Linked DNA regions of Homo sapiens: all the other regions are linked to region 2. The links are contacts of gene promoters, found by promoter capture Hi-C in blood cells and fetal thymus (Javierre and others, 2016). All regions are on one chromosome and are shown on one strand. Each heading gives the region's core, a stretch centred on a gene start or on the middle of the fragment in contact. The rest is flanking DNA. Distances are from core to core; before and after follow the strand shown. Region 1 overlaps ZDHHC8 (zDHHC palmitoyltransferase 8). Region 2 holds the start of ZNF74 (zinc finger protein 74). Region 3 has its middle 25 kb from the start of CCDC188.

Region 1 (2,712 bases), core at 48-2,547, 250 kb after region 2:
CTGCCAGCCCATCCCTAAGCCCAGGCGCCCACCTTGCTACGGCCCAGGCCAGCCTTCAGCCCGTTGTCACTAAGCTTGACCTTGAGCGGTGCAGCTCGGTCCAGGAGTTCAGGCCTAAGGAAAGGCGGCTTCAAACTCACCGCGAGCGGCAGCCGGGGTGGCTCCACCACGTACCTGCACCAGGGCACAGGGGTCAGTAGCCAGCCCACCTGCCACAAACACACAAGGGCAGGGCTGGCCATACCTGGCAAGAGCCAAACGGACCAAGAGGGTCTAAGGCTGCCCGCCCCACACCCAGCAGAGGCCCCCCTCCACCCTGCCCAGGCCGGGCCTCACCGGGGCGCCAGGGGGCTACACAGCACGTGCTCCACATTCCCACAGCAGCCTCGGGTGAAAGGGTTCACACCCCCGCGGAACTTCCCAGTCACCTGTGGATGCAGGACCCTCAGCCAGCCTGGCCTCCCAAGGTCCAGGCCAGGGTGGGCAGGGGGCTGGGCAAGGGAGCTGGGGTTCCTTAGAAGCTGATACTTGCGGGAAGTGGCTTAGGTGGGATCAGCCCAGGGCTGCCCCTCACATAGGTTACCCAGCCTGAACTTGCAGGGAGCTGTGGGATTTCTGGGTCACTGGTGGCCACAGTGTCCACAGGCAGGATGTGCGCAGGGGACGGGGCAGGCGTAGCCCCACGTGGGGGTCTCAGAGTTGGAGCCTCGTCTCAACACAGCTGCACAAGCTACCTCAGGCAAGGGTGCCCCAGCCCCCACCCTGTCCCCATGCAGCCCCAACTCTCTCGGCCCTTTGGGGCCACCCATCCCCCATGGGGTCTGCACCTGCTCGTTGGTGGTGCGCCCCCGAGTGACCAGCACCACATGGAAGCCAGTGAGGCCAATGACAGGGATGAAGAAGAGGCCGGCCACACACATGACAGCCATGCTAGCCCGTTAAGGCCAACGGTGCAGGCCAGGACACCGCAGACCCCATCGCAGCAGCACAGAGCAGGTGCCTGTGGACAAACCTCCTCCCAACCTAGGGACGGCCACCTGCCCACTGGGGATCCCTGGGCAGGAACCAAGCCTTCTGAGGCTCAATCTCCCTGGTGAACGTGTCCCCGGTCCACATCGCCTCTGCAATGAGGCCCACAGGAACCAAGGATACGTGATGGTGGTGTGCGCGGCTCCCAGCCCCTCAGCGTGGTTCAGCACGTAGACCAGGCCGAAGGCCACGACGCCCACCATGTGTGCACTGAGTGACAGCAGGAACAGGAAGAAGTAGCGATAGTTTCGACGCCCGATGCAGTTGTTGACCCAGGGGCAGTGGTGGTCAAAGTCCTGGGCGGGAGCAGTGCATCAGGGCACATGGCAGGCAGGGATGTGGCACAGGGCTGGGGGAGCGCGGGGCAGCAGGGCGGTCACCTCTACACAGTTGTCACAGACGCTGCAGTGGGAGCAGCGCGGCGGGCGGTAGAAGTGGCACGTGGCACACCACTTCATGCGGACCTGGATACCTCGCACATCCACGTTCTTGTACAGCGGAGCCCGGAAGTCGTCCTCCTTGTCCTCATCCTCATCCGCTACAGACCAGGAGCCAGGCAGTGAGCAGGAAGTTGACTTTCCTGGCAGGTGAATCCCTCCCCCAAGTCCAGCCCACCCACCAGGAATCCCTAAGGCTGTCTCAAGTTAGCCACTCACACTCTAGTGAAAGTGAGAGGAGCTGCCGCAGCACAGGGCCCTACCTCGGGGGAAAACACCAGGGTCCATGAAAGTGGCCATGCTGAAGTTGGCCAGGACAAAGAGGAAGATGATGCCATTGTAGACGGGAACAGCTGGGGACACAGCTCGTGTCAACCACGGGCACCTGCAGTAGACAGTGGGGGCAGAGAGTGGAGTCTGGGGGTGCAGAGCGGATGCAGGCGCAGAGCTATGTGGTGCGGCAGGCTGGGCCTGCAAGGTCACCCTCAGAGCTCAGAGGCAGTGGGGAGGCTGCCACAGCCCTGCCAAGAAACCTCAGCCACATCGCTCCTTCGAGTAACGGCCAGAGGCTGTGCGTATCAGTACAGCATGTGGGCTACCCGTGCCCTGACCCGGCAACCTCTCAGGGCAGCCGTCTCAGAGAGGCCCACAGACCTAAGGTCACCCCATTCCAGCGACCTAGGCTCCATGACTGGGGCGGGGTAGGGGGCGGGGGCGGTACACAGGCTGGAGGTGGGAGCCCCAGATGGAAAATGCGCCACGATGCCTCATCCAGGCCTGTCCCTGGCCCAGTGGGGCCTCTCACCAGGCAGATTCTGGGGTGTGGGGAGCCCCAGTCCTTGGTCAGTAAGTGCATGGGGCATGTCTCCCCTACTCTTCCCAGTCAGGCACATCCCCATCCAGACAGCCCCTTCTTTTTAGTTTGTCACCTCCCTCCCCAGATGACAAAGTAGAACACTTAGGGACTCTAGAATGCACAACACCCCCCACCACTTCCCATCTTCCCAGCCATCAGCACTTGGCTCCAAGGCCACCCCCTCTTCCGGGAAGCTTTCCAGGACTCCAGGCTGCCCTCTGCAGCTTCCCTATAAGGTGTGCCCTCACACACCTTCCTGAAAGGCGCCTTCCTCAGCCCTTAACGGGCCTGGCCCGAGTCCCCTCTGAAGAGACTTGCCGGTCCTCGGGCCACACGGCCTGCAGCGGGTTCCTAAATCCACCCACTCAGCTTCCAAGAAGCCCCTCTGGC
Region 2 (2,700 bases), core at 113-2,612:
CCGGGTGAAGGTCTGTGGAAGGCTGACGATCCAGGGCTGGGGAGGGAATGTGCCAACCCTCTTCATAAAGAAGGAAGAACACACAGCCACTCACCTTGGACCTGGCTTCGGGAAGACCCCAACCCGATATATCCTCGAGATTCTCTTTCAGGGAAAGAGCAGGATCCTGAGAGGAAAGAGCTGGCGAAGGAGAAATGAGTCAAGGTCACGGCTACCAGGCTCACGGCTGAGCTTAAAGCCCACCTGTCGTGGCACAAGTGAGAATCAGAGAGGAGGCAGAACCTGCCAGCAAGGCCAGGTGGGGAACGAGCCCCAGTAGCTAGCACCAACAGAAACAGCATCGAGGAATAATCTGCCTGTGTCTCAGACACTCCAATTCATGACGAAAAGAGCTGCTACCCCCAATCAAGCACGTCTGAGTGGGAACAAATGATTGGGCGCGGGGAAGAAAGAAGCAGGAGGCCAGGAGCGATGGCTCACGCCTGTAATCCCAGCACTTTGGGAGGCCGAGGCGGGCGGATCGCTTGAGCTTAAGACCAGCCTGGGAAACATGGCAAAACCCCGTCTCTACTAAAAATACAAACATTAGCCGGGCGTGGTGGCGCGCGCCTGCAATCCCAACTACTTGGGAGGTTGAGGCGGGAGAATAGTTTGAACCCGGGAAGCAGAGGTTGCAGTGAGCGGAGATCAAGCCATTGCACCACTCCCGCCTGGGTGACAGAGTGAGATTCCATTTAAAAAAAAAAAAAAAGATGCTGGATGCTTCTGGGAAACTGGCCTGATCTCTCTGAGTGTCAATATCCTCAAGTGCAAATCCACAGACATACTGACTACAAGAGTGAAGCTGTACCTGTCTTCTCGGGCTCCGGGGCAGGGATCTCCATGGCCTCCACGGCAGCCTCCCCAGGAGGAGTGGGCAGCTGTGTAGCCTCCAGGATCCAGGGCAGGCCCTGAAGAGCGAGTACTGCTCCTGGGGCTGAGGGGCCTGCAGCGGAGCCCCGCGGGGCGGCCACGCGCTCACAGCTGCACGATCACACGCACGGAGCCCCCTCCCCGCGCCCGGCTGAGGTGGGGTTCAGGCCGGCTCCGCAGATACCCACTCCCCACACCAGGCTCAGCCCCATGCTCGGCGCACTCACGCCCCGGCACACCCCCGCCACACGCTCCTCCCGGCGAACCCGCGCTCGGAGACCAGGGCCAGGCCTAAGGTTCCGCGGCCAGGAGCCATCGGACGCGGAGCGACCAGCGGACAGGTCCCGAAGCGGACAGAGACCGCCGACGGTCTGAGGGACCGGCAAGTGGACAGACCGGACTCCCACAAAAGGACTGCGACTGCCACAAAGAGCAGCAGGCGGCCGCTGCGGGAAAGCGCGCCTGCGCGAAATAGGCGCAAACTACACCTCCCGGGAGCGTTTGCGCCGCGCAGGCGTCAGACTCCATTTCCTAGAGCGAGTTCGGGCCGGTGCTTGCGTCCCGACGCGAACGAGTATCTAGCACATCCTTCTAGGAAATGTAGTTCCTGGGCCCACAGCCGGGAGCTCCGGCACCCACCATGCTCTTGCGGGCGGATGTCGCTGTGTATCTCCGTGTGCGGATCAGTGTAGTGCCGCTGCATGGGTGTCTAATTGCGAGGATACTGGGAGGGCGGTGTCCAGGAACTAGAATTTGTCCTGTTAGTTCGTCCACGTCCCCACGTAGCTGGGAGTCGGGTGGGTTCCTGCCCACATCTGTCTGCAGGAAAGACTCAAGCCCCTGGTCTTACGGATATTGGGAGTGGTGGGTCTGGCCTCGAGGGGTTTTCCAGGGGCCCTGCCCCCACTCCCCCTTCTCGAGCCACATATCTGAGGCCCATGGGCGCGGGTCCCCAGAGGTGGGAGAGCCTTGGCCTAGTCCCCCCAGAGGGTCCTGTCCACAGTTCACCCCTGGGGCGGGAAAGGAAGGTCTGGGTGGCGGCCCAGTCCTGGCGGCACAGAGCTCTGCCATGAACACAGTGATGACGCCAGCGACAGAAACATTGAATATGTACTGAGCACCAACCAAACGCCAGGCCTACTTCAAGAGCTTGGAGTACATTTTTCTGGCAGAATGCTCACAGCAGTCCAGGGAGGTTTGCTAACTACTGTCATCCCATTTGGGAGATGAGGAAGTTGTGGTACAGGTGCGTGGGGTAACGTGTCGCAAATCACACAGCCAGAAGTAGGAATCCAGCACCGAAGTGCATTGCCACATTCCTACTGAGAGGTGGTCCGGGGTGGTGCACACTCCAAACCCTTCAGCCTCCCACCTTAACCGCAGCTTAGGCTTGGCCACAGGCTCTCACGTGACACCTGTCCACTGCCCACATCAGCACAGCTGTGCCCAGACCTCCCCTGCCCAGGGCAGCGCCCGTGTTTGATTTTGTTTTGAGACTGGGTCTCACTCTGTCGCCCAGGCTGGAGTGCAGTTGCACAATCACGGCTCACCGTAGCCTCAGTCTCTCGGGCTCAAACTATTCTCCCACCTCAGCCTCCGGAGTAGCTGGGACTTACAGACATGCACCACCACGCCCGGTTAATTTTTATATTCAGCGCCCATTTTTAATAGCAACCCAGTGAGAGGGGACAGCGTGCTGGCAGTCCTCACAGCCCTTGCTCGCTCTCGGCGCCTAGTCGGCCTTGGCGCCCACTCTGGCCGCGCTTGAGGAGCCCTTCAGCCCACCGC
Region 3 (2,700 bases), core at 111-2,610, 220 kb after region 2:
TCGAAGAAATGCAACACAATTAATTAGCCCCTAAAAAAAGCGTTTGAAGTGTTTATTGCAGGACGGCGCTCCTGGTTTTATAAACAGATGGGGAAATAAAGTGGTGGGGATGACAAGCCGGGAACAGCTGCACAGGGACCCGGAACCTAATTCATAATTCAGCAGACTAATCAGAGAACATCTTCTGCAGGCGCCATAACGAAGGGACGTGAGGCCGCAACTGATGAGCCAATCCCCATGCGCCTGCCACGCCAGCCACGCCCCTGCACTGCTGACCCCAGTGTGAGCCCCTGCCTCCAGCCCTGGCCTGACCGAAGCACCCAGCCCCATCCCTGGTCACAATGACCTCCTGCCAAGCTTTCAGCAGGCGTTTTCTCAGCAGCTCCCTGCAACATTTAGTCACAAGCCCATTTTTCAGGAGAGGAAACTGAGGCGCAGGGAGAGTGAGCCTGAGGGACCTGCCCTGGTGGGTGCATACCCCCACAAGCCCTGGATCCCCAATCCACTGCCCAGGGGTGCACCCAAAGAGGTGGGTTTGGCCCTCCTGGACCACCCTGGATCCTCTTGTGCAGGAGGGACTCCAAGTAGACTGAGGAGCTCTTCCCTTCCAGCAGTTGAGATGTGGAGGGAGAAGGAAGAAGGGGGAGAGTGTTTACCAGCCAAGAGGACGTGGGATGGGTGTGAGGCTGGCCTTTGAGGAGCATGGACTGGGCGGGGACCTACCGGTGGGTTGTACATGGGGAAGCCCATGGGCCCCGAGCAGGGAACCTGGAATAATTGAACATAAAAATTCACATGCATTTGGCCAGGCGCAGTGGCTCACACCTGTGATCCCAGCATTTTGGGAGGCCGAGGTGGGAGGATCACTTGAGGTCAGGAGTTTGAGACCAGTCTGGCTAACATGGCGAAACCCCGTCTCTACTAAAAATACAAAAAAATTAGCCAGGCGTGGTGGCGCACGCCTATAGTCCCAGCTACTTGGGAGGCTGAGGCAGGAGAATTGCTTGAACCCAGGAGGTGGAGGTTACAGTGAGCCAAGATCGCGCCACTGCACTCCAGCCTGGGTGACAGAGTGAGACTCCATCTCAAAACAATAAAATAAAATAAAATAATTCACATGCATTTTATGAATCTTCTAGCTCCGACAGGAGCCCCAGTGTTCACAGCAGTCGTGGACTGTAAAATGCACAAGATGAAATGTTTGTGACAGCCGTAAAGTCCTCGTTTTCTCCTCGGCTGCAGTGGAAACATGGGGCAGCGGGGCCGTGGGCGCCAAGCCTCCCCATCCCCCGCTGGCCCCTGCCCCTGCCGCACGTGCTCGTGTGTGCCCTGTGAGTACCCAGCAAGACATGGGGACTGAGGAAAGAGCCCAGCTCACACCTGCCCTCTGCAGCTCACGGCCTCCTCAGGCAGACATATGGGGTCAATTAAACTCTGCAACAAGCCTTTTACTTAAACACATCAAACCACAAATACCATCAGAGTGGTTGATGTCGTAGCAGAGGAAGGCAAGGGGGCTGCGGTGCCTACAGGGGTAGTTCAGGGGCCTTGTGGAGTTGGGCTCCAAAGTCTAGGTAGGAGCTTGCCAGTGTGAGCAGCACCAGTCACCCGCCACTGTGGCACTGGCGCCGGATGGGACTCAGACGTGGGTTAGAAAGCCCCCAGTCAGACCCTCACCCCAACCCCCACTGGACCTCACATGCTTTCTCCCCACAGGATTTCAGAGGATGGCAGGGGAATGGGGAAACATGTGTCCGGCTACCTGCTGCTGCATGACAAAGCAGCCCAGTCTCTTGTGTGCTTGGTCTGTGGGTCTGGAGCCCGGGCAGGGCCCAGCAGGGCGGTGTGGGCAGCTCTTCTGCTGTGCATGGCATCGAGGGGGCATTCAGTGTACTCAGCCCCAGCTGTGCCCCCAGGCCTGGCCTCGGCAGACCGGCTGCAGGGCTGAGCCCCACAGGCCCTCCCGCTCCGTGGGCTCTCCCTGCTGGTCAGATTCCTTCAAGGCAGCTCAGGACCAAAAGCAGAAAGCAGAACAGCTGGGCTCTGAGGGCCTGGGGTGCAGCGCAGCGCCATGTCCACCCAACACCAATGGTCAAAGCTGTCCAGGCCTTCCTAGGTCCAGGGAGGGATGAAGACTGACAGACTCACAGAAGGTCAAGGAATGTGCGTTTGGCCCCGTTGAGTCTCTGCAGGATGGGCTCAGTACAAAGCGCTGGGCAGGGCAGAGGAGCAGAGCCCACCTGGACCCCAGCCAGGAGCCCACAAGTGCCAACAGCTCCCTGGGAAACAGGACCAGGGCCCCCAGCTCCTGGGTGGGCGAGGTATGCAGTAACTGGCCCCTCAGGGGGTGGAGCCAAGCTTGGAGACCCCTGCCGAGGCAGGGTCTCAGTGCTGAAGCAGGATTTGGACCCACTTTTTCTGTACTCTGACCCCTTTCCCAAAGTCAACCTCCCTTTGAGGTCCTCTCCCCAAAACACCCCCTGACCAGCACAGCCCTCCTCTGCGTGCTGCAGGCAGACTCCTCCCTGTTCCTACACCACCTGCCCGAGGTCCCCCAGCTCTTGAATGGCAGAGTGAGGACATGAAGCCGGTGTCCCTGACTCCAGGGCTGTGTTCTTGGCCCCAGCCCGGACCCCCGCATGCATCTACATCTGCTGTCTGCACTTGGTACCTGCCGCTCTTCCCCGGCCCCCACTGTCC

The links. The method cuts DNA at HindIII sites, captures the fragments that hold promoters and counts their contacts. A CHiCAGO score of 5 or more calls a contact.
Region 1: a fragment that was not itself captured here is called in contact with the fragment with the promoter of ZNF74 in region 2 in 1 of 17 cell types (erythroblasts); the score reaches 5.0 in erythroblasts.
Region 3: a fragment that was not itself captured here is called in contact with the fragment with the promoter of ZNF74 in region 2 in 1 of 17 cell types (M0 macrophages); the score reaches 6.7 in M0 macrophages.

The regions. Positions count from the first base shown.
Region 1 is chr22:20,138,333-20,141,044 of GRCh38, reverse strand. It overlaps ZDHHC8 (zDHHC palmitoyltransferase 8), which reads right to left. Exons shown (of 11, transcript NM_013373.4): 2 at 1,730-1,851; 3 at 1,410-1,567; 4 at 1,153-1,325; 5 at 828-930; 6 at 337-428; 7 at 33-174. Among named protein-coding and RNA genes, the nearest start is that of ZDHHC8, 7.9 kb to the right of the region's middle. The HindIII fragment of the contact is 2,442 bases long and covers 77-2,518 here.
Region 2 is chr22:20,392,813-20,395,512 of GRCh38, reverse strand. It overlaps ZNF74 (zinc finger protein 74), which reads right to left and starts at 1,362. Exons shown (of 5, transcript NM_003426.4): 1 at 851-1,362; 2 at 95-180. The coding sequence starts at 884. RefSeq lists enhancers at 1,182-1,321, 1,792-1,861, 1,263-2,252. The HindIII fragment of the contact is 14,387 bases long and covers 1-2,700 here.
Region 3 is chr22:20,174,368-20,177,067 of GRCh38, reverse strand. No RefSeq gene overlaps it. Among named protein-coding and RNA genes, the nearest start is that of CCDC188, 25 kb to the right of the region's middle. RefSeq lists an enhancer at 1-277. The HindIII fragment of the contact is 2,001 bases long and covers 360-2,360 here.